3 separate regions of the Homo sapiens genome follow, and all the other regions are linked to region 3. Evidence: promoter capture Hi-C in 16 types of primary human blood cells and fetal thymus (Javierre and others, 2016). All regions are on one chromosome and are shown on one strand. The core of a region is centred on a gene start or on the middle of the fragment in contact, and the rest is flanking DNA. Distances in the headings are between cores, read along the strand shown.

Region 1 (2,700 bases), core at 138-2,637, 520 kb after region 3:
TACACAAGACTATATTCTATGTGGTTCCATTTGTATGAAATTCTGAAACAGGCAAAACTAACTATGGTGTTAAAAAGTCATAACAGCTGGGCTCACGCCTGTAATCCCAGCACTTTGGGAGGCTGAGGCGGGTGGATCTCTTGAGGTCAGGAATTCGAGACCAGCCTGGCCAACATGGTGAAACCCCATCTCTACTAAAAATACAAAAAATTAGCTGGGTGTGGTGGCACATGCCTGTAATCCTAGATACTCAGGAGGCTGAGGCAGGAGAATCGCTTGAACCCAGGAGGCGAAGGTTGAGGTGAGTGAAGATCATGCCATTACATTCCAGCCTGGGTGACAGAGCAAGACTCCGTCTCAAAAAAAAGAAAAGAAAAGAAAAGAAAAACGTTAAAGGCCAGGTGTGGTGGCTCATGCCTGTAATCCCAGCAATTTAGGAGGTTGAGGCGGGTGGATCACAAGATCAGGAGTTCAGGACCAGCCTGACCAACATGGTGAAACCCCGTCTCTACTAAAAATACAAAAAATTAGCTGGGTATGGTGGTACGCACCTGTAATCCCAGCTACTCAGGAGGTTGAGGCAGGAGAATCGTTTGAACATGGGAGGCGGAGGTTGCAGTGAGCCGAGATCATACCACTGCACTCCAGCCTGGGTGACAGAGGGAGATCCCGTCTCAAAAAAAAAAAAAAGGAAAAAACAATAAACAAATACTGGAGTCTGGCTACAAGGATGCACAAGCTACAGTACTCTAGGGGAACTGATGTCTGTAATCTACTTTGAAATGGATCAAAGAATAAGATGAATTAATGGATAGAGTGATGGATAGACAGGTATGACATAAGCAAGTAAAAGGTTAATAGCAGAATCTACTGGTGAGTACATGAATGCTCACTAAAATTTGTTCACTTTTACTATATGCTTGAACTTTTTCATAACAAAATGTTGAGAAAATGTACAAGCATGAAAGTTATTAAAATATCCCAGTAACATGTAAGCAAAGGAAGTAGCCTTAGCCTTCGAGACAGTGTTAACCCCAGCAAGAGAACGTGCATGCATCTGAGTTCAGAAGAGCCGAGGCTTTCATACTTACTACATCACTAGAGCTGGACTGTGTGGCAGAAGAGGACGACACTGGACCTGATGAAGAGTTTGAAGAGTGTTTACTAAGAGATTCCGAGGTTTTACTTCTACATTTTCCAAGGGCTTCATTTTCTTCAGATAGATTATTATTACATTTATCTAACTGCTGAGTATCTACTATCAAGGTAACACCATTTCCTGAAAGAGTGGCAAAAGATTGGAAAACGTTTCTTCCCATTAAACGCACACAACACAGAAAAGCCTCTAATACTCAGTCAATCGACCAAGGAAAATATCTTACCATTGCATGAAGGCTCAGGTCTATTCTTCAAGCCCCACTGCTTTGATATCCAATCTCTATATGTGGCAACTTCATCTGTTACTCTAATTATTCTACCTAGTATGCTGCATGTGTTTAAAAAGAAAGGGAGAGGGAGGGAATAACATTAATTTGAAGATAAGAAGCCACAACTAATTTTGACACAATGGGCTGGTTATAGATGAACTTTTACCTTTCTGTTTCATTGTTGGGATAGTACTTTGCTATTGGTGATACAGCATGACTCAAAACAACGTAGGCATAATCAAAGGCCTGCTTCACTTGCATGGCCCCATATGAACTCCTTCCAACATCGTTACCTTTAAAAGAAATATACGTAACATAGTAAGCCTGACTGTGCTTAATATGCACTAAATGTTGATGACTCTCTTCCAGGAGAGCAAGGGCCATAGTTATCCCACCAGAGTTGTGCCTGGAAGCTGAGCTGTGAGCTGTCCCCAAAGCTCCCCAGTCTCTGAATATGTGAATCATGCAGTTGGTACTTCATTATGGTGTATCAGTTGCCGGAATGTATTCTGGCCCATCAAGAATTATCCCATTCCATACATAAACAGTTATGCAAACAAAAGAAATAGTGCCCTGTTCACTCCTAAGAGTGAAACCCCAAGTTACATCAGAAATACTTCTATATTTTTTGGGTTTATATTAGCTATATATCTATTTCTCACTCTAAATTATGAGCCCCTAAAAAGCAAGGATCGTCTTGCTGAAAAGTCTTCGTGTCCTTTGGCCCAATACTTTTGAACAGAGCAGGCTCCCAATCAATGTAATGTTTCCTCAATGAATAAACACATAGAACTATTAATGTTTATAAGGCAGCTCAATAAGCCAGAAAATGGTTCCTAGGCAACTACTCTATCTCTTCACCCCCTTTCCTTACTCATTTTCAAAGTTTACACATTAAAGCAAATGACTAAAAGCACTTCCACTGAAGTCCAATAACGCAGAATCTATTTTACAATTATATCAAGAAAAAATATTGCTCACAAAAATCAGGACACAAGCAAGCAAACAGAACTTCAGAAAAGCATGGAAGGAATTTACTTTCTGCTTACTTTCAAGCCCACATGAAGCTGGAAAAAGCACAAAGAGACATGCAAAATCAAACAGGAAAGGAGAAATTCAAAAAGAAAATACATTGTCTCCTTGCACCCTTCTGCTCATGAATTCAAAGATATATTACTATGCTTGCTGCCTCTCAGGACTTCAGAATCATCTCATTAAAGCCTCATTAATTGCTGACAATTGGTTGTAATCAAGGCAATAAGGACCCAAGAAG
Region 2 (2,700 bases), core at 146-2,645, 540 kb after region 3:
ACCCCATCTCTACAAAAATACAAAAAAATTAGCCAGGCGTGATGGTGCACGCCTGTAATCCCAGCTACTCAAGAGGCTAAGGTGGGAGAATCGCTTGAGCCCGGAAGACAAAACTTGCAGTGGGCTGAGATTGTGCCTCTGTTCTCCAGCCTGGGCAACAGAGCAAGACTCCGTCTCAAAAAAATAAAAAAATTTTTAAAAAAGGAAAAGTGAACAAGATCCCTGTTCACAAAAGAAAAGTCATATAAAAGCAGTATGATAAAATGAGCACCACTATACAACGGGAAAGGATGCCAAAAAAAAAAAAAGAGAGAGCAAGAGAAACAAAATTAATTTGCTGGGGTAAAATTTACATTAAAATCTCAAAATTAATAACAGAACATTTAATATGACAAGGAGGTGTCCAAAAAACAGATTCCATATTTAAAAAATAAAACTCACAGGTAATTTAGGTTAAAAAAAAAAAACAAACTTCTGTTCTGAGGAAAGATCTGCTACAGAAAAGGAATCCAGCCTATCAAAATTATGTGAATTTTATAATGCTTGTCATGGGGTGGGAGGTTCAAGATCTTTGGCTGGAAAAGGAAGAACCATTTCGCATCCTTCAGCTGGACCACCCTGGGCACACTGTGAGTTGCTTAGTAGCTTCTGCATTCTCAAAACCAAAGGCAAGGTGGAAAGCTCCCTTGTGCCTTCTAGGCCAAGGGAGGCAGATGACCCACGGCCAGCCCCTCTGCTCAGCACCGTCCCCTGCGGCTCATCCATGTTTCTGTTCAGGGATGACACTGCTTCCCAAGAGATACCTGCCCAGACACAGCATGTCTGAGCCCACCTCCACATCAAGGTCCAGCTTTCCCAGTTCCATAACTGAAGTCAGACCTGTTTTATTACCAAATTCATCCCTTACATGAAGGAACTGACAAAGTTCTATTCGATAACTGTCAATAACAGGACATCCCTCCACCAAAACAAACTGTCAATAACAGGACATGCCCCCACCAAAAAAAAAAAAAAAAAAAAAATACATACATATATATTTATCTCTTAAGGTTCATGATATCCAATTTTGAAACAATATATTGAAAAGGCATTCATATGCATGTGGGGAAGTATAAATTACTACAATCTCTCCTGAGGTCATTCTACTAACAAACGATAATGTTTACACAAATAATTTTTAAAATTTCCCTTCTTTCCATCCTCCAGAAATATTTTCATGAGGGAACAAGGATATCTGTATAAGGATGCTCACCACAGGATTAATTAGGATACTAAAAAATTTAGAAATGATATCAATGTCCATCAACAGGATCCAATTAAATAACAACAGAAGCACCCATAAAGCACTTTCCCTTTATAGCCAATAACCTCTTAAAAAAATAAAGCTATATAAGCTGATAAAGATGTCAAATATGTTAAATTGGAAAGAAAAAGCATAAAAAATGTGTTCAGCAGAATCTCTTTTGTGTGCGTTAGACATGTGCAGGGGCAGAAGCAGTGGCTCACACCTGTAATCCCAGCACTTTGGGAGGCTGAGGCGGGTAGATCACTTGATGTCAGGAGTTTCAGACCAGCCTGGCCAACATGGCGAAACCCCATCTCTACTAAAAATACAAAAATTAGCTGGGTGTGGTGGCAGGCGCCTGTAATTCCAGCTACTCGGGAGGCTGAGGCATGAGAATCACTTGAACCCAGGAGGCAGAGATCACAGCAAGCTGAGATCATGCCACTGCACTCCAGCCTGGATAACAGAGCAAGACTCTGTCTCAAAAAAAAAAAAAAAAAAAAAAAAAAAAAAAAAAAAAAAAAAAAAAAAAAGACATGTAAACACATACACACAGAGGCAGACACACAAAATGTTCCTATTTGCATTGCAAGTTTTCTGGAAGGAGAACTGTTAACAGATATTACCTTAGGGACAGGGACTTTTGCCCAGTGGAGGGCACAGGCAGGAGAGTTAGGAAGACTTTAACTTATTTTTGTATCTTTCTGTACTATTATAATTTTTTTTAAAAAATCAGCATGTATTTGTCCACTTTTGAAACAGAGATTATTGTCTGCTTGATGAGATTATAGTCCAGGAGATTTGTTGTCACCTTTATATTTTCCCATGTGAAAAATATGGTTGTGAGTATGCATGTTCCACCCACTAACCAGCCCTCTGCCCGCCCCACACAGAACAGGGTCTATATACGATACTGTTAACAGTGATCACATCCGAAGAGGGACTGGGGGGGTCATTTTAAGAAAAATGCATACATGTTAATTACCACTGTATATTTTTAAAACAAGAACTTCATCATAAAAAAATTCATTAAAGAAAACACAAAGCAGAAACACTTAAATTACTCTAATAATCTAGCCTTGCAGACACACTTCGAAAGAGGGTGATATGGGCCGGCTGTGGAAGGAGCTCAGTGGTCAGCCTGTGGGCAATACTGACAGCTGGGGACACAGAAGACCTCCAAACCCAGGAATGCAGTGACAGCACACACCAGTACATTTTGCAAAGTTTCTGCATGCCCAGTGCAGTGTGTGTGGTGAGTTTCTGCTAGTGTCTGGCCCATCCTTTCTGGGATTATTTATATACTCAAACGCGTTGCAAGGCAAATTTCTGGAAGAATACACAAAAACTGCTAGCAGGACTTTCCTCTGGGGTGGAATAGAGGTCTGAATTTGCATGATTTTGTACTGTTTGAT
Region 3 (2,700 bases), core at 150-2,649:
CACCCAGAGGAAGGTTTATTTGCAAGAATACTATACAATTTTGCAGCAGAATATTAGAGAATGTTCTGGGTGTTACTTCAATAAGAATTTCCAGCAAATCATTTTCTCCTAATACTGTTCTAGTTCAAATCCACCTACTGCTCAGTGGGGAATGGGAGGCTAAATTCTTAAGGCCATTCAGTCTACTTGGGGCGTGAGGGGGTGTGTAGAAAGCCAACAATCAAACGAACACCCTCTCAAGGCCTGGGTGCTTCTCTGAGAGCCAATGATTGCAAAATGAACAATCTTATTAAGATCCCTAATTAGCCCGAATTCAAAAGCAAGGTAGGCATGCTCCTTAGCTGAGCTAAGGATAAAACTTTCCAGGAAAAATTGAGGAGAAGAAGGTGGCAGGGATGATGGGGGCTGGGAGACTGCAAGGCCACAGGCTTGGTGGCTGGAAGATGACAACTATCCTAAAACATTCAAATGCCAAGGGGTGGAAGAGAAACGATGCCAAGTACATGAATAACCGGCAGCTGACCCAGCTGAGTACCAAACTCAACACCATCTCCTGAAGATTTCATGACTTCGCCCCCGCCCCCCATTCGCCCCCCACCCCCCTCGATTGTTAACATGAAAGAAAAACATAAAGAAAGAATACCTGTCACAGCAGGGCGCACCTTTCAACTAAGGAACTCCGGGTGGCTGTGTAGAACCATCCTCACCCTAGAAAGGGGGAAACTGAAAGAAAAAGCAGAACACGCCATTAACAAGGCCAGAACCCCGACTGCCATTCCTGGACGGGAGCCACCAACACCCGCAAAATCGATCGGTACGTACGCCCCGCGGCGCGGTCGGTAGGAATCACAGCCCCGGGCTCCTGAGGCCAACCGTGGCCGTCGGGGCCCGCCAGCGGCCTGTGCCTCAGTCTCCCAATCTGTAAATGGGGTGGGGGGCGGGAGGGGGACAGCGTCCCGCGCGGCTCCCGCCCCAAGTCCTCTCTCCTCTGGGGGTCCCGATGGTGGCGACCCCGCACGCTCCCCGGACTCGCAGCCCTCCCGGGAAGCCTCGGGGGATGGGGAAGCCCCGGTGGGGGGGGGAAACCCGGGCTGACGTCAGCGGGCTCGGCAACCCGCGGGCCCGGCCGGCTCGGGCCCGGGCAACTAACGGGCCGGCGCCGAGGGCCCGATGGTCGCCGCGGCGGCTCCGGACGCCCTGAGGCCAGGCGGCTGCGCCGAGGGGATCCGGCCGCCCGCCGGCCGCCAGCCGCCCGCTCATTCACTAACCTCGGGCGGCGGGGCGTCGCCCCTCGCCCCGGCTCCCCAGCCCGCGTCCCGGGCCGGCCCCGGCTCCCCACACCCACCGCCCTAGTATTTACCTCCGACGCGCGGCCCCCGCGCAGCCAAACCTGCTACCTGGGCCCGCCCCCACCTGCCCCGCCTCCGAACCGCACAGGGAAGAGGGAGGGAGCGGGGGCGGAGGGGGCAGCCGCCGCGCTAGCCAATCGTAGGCCGAGCTGCGCTCCTGAGCGGGCCGTGATTGGGCCTCCCTGTGACAGACCTTCCTCCAATGGCTGCCAGCCCGGCGCCGGCCGAAGGGACTTTCCGCTCTGTCAAGCTCGGTGGAACCAAAGGGAAAGCGAAGGGGCGGGGCAGAGAAGAGCGGCGGATGGAGGCGGGAAGCTCAAGCTGATTGGGCGAAAGGCTGTGGGTGCCGCGTCACCATTGGCTGATGCTGGAGCCGGGGCGGGGCGCTGCGCTGCCACCAGCTCCGCCTCCCGTGCTCCCGCCTCAGCTGTCAAAACTGTAGACGCTTAGGTTTGGGCTGGGTTAAGAGTCCAGATGAAGGTTGAAATAGGATTCCAGGATGCCGTGAGAGAGCAAAGCTTTAGAATCAGACCTCAGTTTGAATCTTTGGCGCTTTCATTCAGTGGCTGCGTGACCTGAGGAAGTCACAACCACGCTGAGCCTCAATGTCCTCATCTGTAAAATGGAGATCATAGTATCGGTTGTCTTACAGGATTGTGGCAAAATACCGAGCTAAAGTTCCTGGCACGCAGTACCAGCTCAGGAAAGGTTCATCTCTTCCTCCTCCGCAGATTCAGCCTGGGACGCTTGCTGTTTCCGAACCTCTGTTGCCACCTATCCCAGTTTGGAGGGAATTTTCCCAAGGATGGTGAAGAAGGGATTTCCACACGCCGCCTCACTCAGCCCCGCACCCCTGGCCACCAGCCAGGACTTAGGGTGTAGTTAAGGATCTTTCAATTAGAAGGGAGGCTTCTGATTCCCAAAAGCACTCAAAATATTTAAGGAAGTGCTTTTTATAATCAGTCCTAGAGCCTTGCTGCACTGGATACTCCTGTTAATTAATTTCTTCTCCTTTGACATTTTAAGTGCTAATTATAGGAGAAGGTGATTAACACTGAGAAAGGAGGAGGGGTGTGTGTGTGTGTGTGTGTGTGTGTGTGTGTGTTTTTAATCATGACACAAATTTCCCCCAGTGGAAAGTGACATGTTTCTGGAGATCCAGGGAATTTAAACCAATGAATACATAAAAACAGTCACATGAGTGATGACTAACAGTAGCAGTAGACAGGCCACCACTCTTCCTTGCCATAGTCATCCAAAATGAAATGAGCATCTTTTGAAAACCTAAGCCTCATTCTACTCCTGTCCCTCTTTTGTCACTCCTATCTTCCTGTTTTCCAGGCTTCATGAC

Evidence for each region. Contacts are between HindIII fragments. The CHiCAGO score rates a contact against its expected background, and 5 or more counts as called.
Region 1: a fragment that was not itself captured here is called in contact with the fragment with the promoter of CYLD in region 3 in 11 of 17 cell types (naive CD4 T cells, total CD4 T cells, monocytes and 8 more); the score reaches 10.8 in naive CD4 T cells.
Region 2: a fragment that was not itself captured here is called in contact with the fragment with the promoter of CYLD in region 3 in 13 of 17 cell types (naive B cells, naive CD4 T cells, naive CD8 T cells and 10 more); the score reaches 20.4 in naive B cells.

Annotation. Positions count from the first base shown.
Region 1 is chr16:50,223,677-50,226,376 of GRCh38, reverse strand. TENT4B (terminal nucleotidyltransferase 4B) reads right to left here. Exons shown (of 12, transcript NM_001365324.3): 8 at 1,594-1,720; 9 at 1,383-1,486; 10 at 1,092-1,279. Among named protein-coding and RNA genes, the nearest start is that of ADCY7, 42 kb to the left of the region's middle. The HindIII fragment of the contact is 8,159 bases long and covers 1-2,700 here.
Region 2 is chr16:50,204,677-50,207,376 of GRCh38, reverse strand. All of the region lies in intron 1 of TENT4B (terminal nucleotidyltransferase 4B), which reads right to left. Among named protein-coding and RNA genes, the nearest start is that of TENT4B, 53 kb to the right of the region's middle. The HindIII fragment of the contact is 6,724 bases long and covers 1-2,700 here.
Region 3 is chr16:50,740,785-50,743,484 of GRCh38, reverse strand. It overlaps CYLD (CYLD lysine 63 deubiquitinase), which reads right to left and starts at 1,399. Exons shown (of 19, transcript NM_001378743.1): 1 at 1,361-1,399; 2 at 644-723. CYLD-AS1 (CYLD antisense RNA 1) reads left to right here and starts at 738. Exons shown (of 7, transcript NR_184279.1): 1 at 738-814; 2 at 2,081-2,157; 3 at 2,691-2,700. MIR3181 (microRNA 3181) reads right to left here and starts at 1,180; the gene lies at 1,108-1,180. RefSeq lists an enhancer at 645-744 and a silencer at 985-1,584. The HindIII fragment of the contact is 2,791 bases long and covers 1-1,869 here.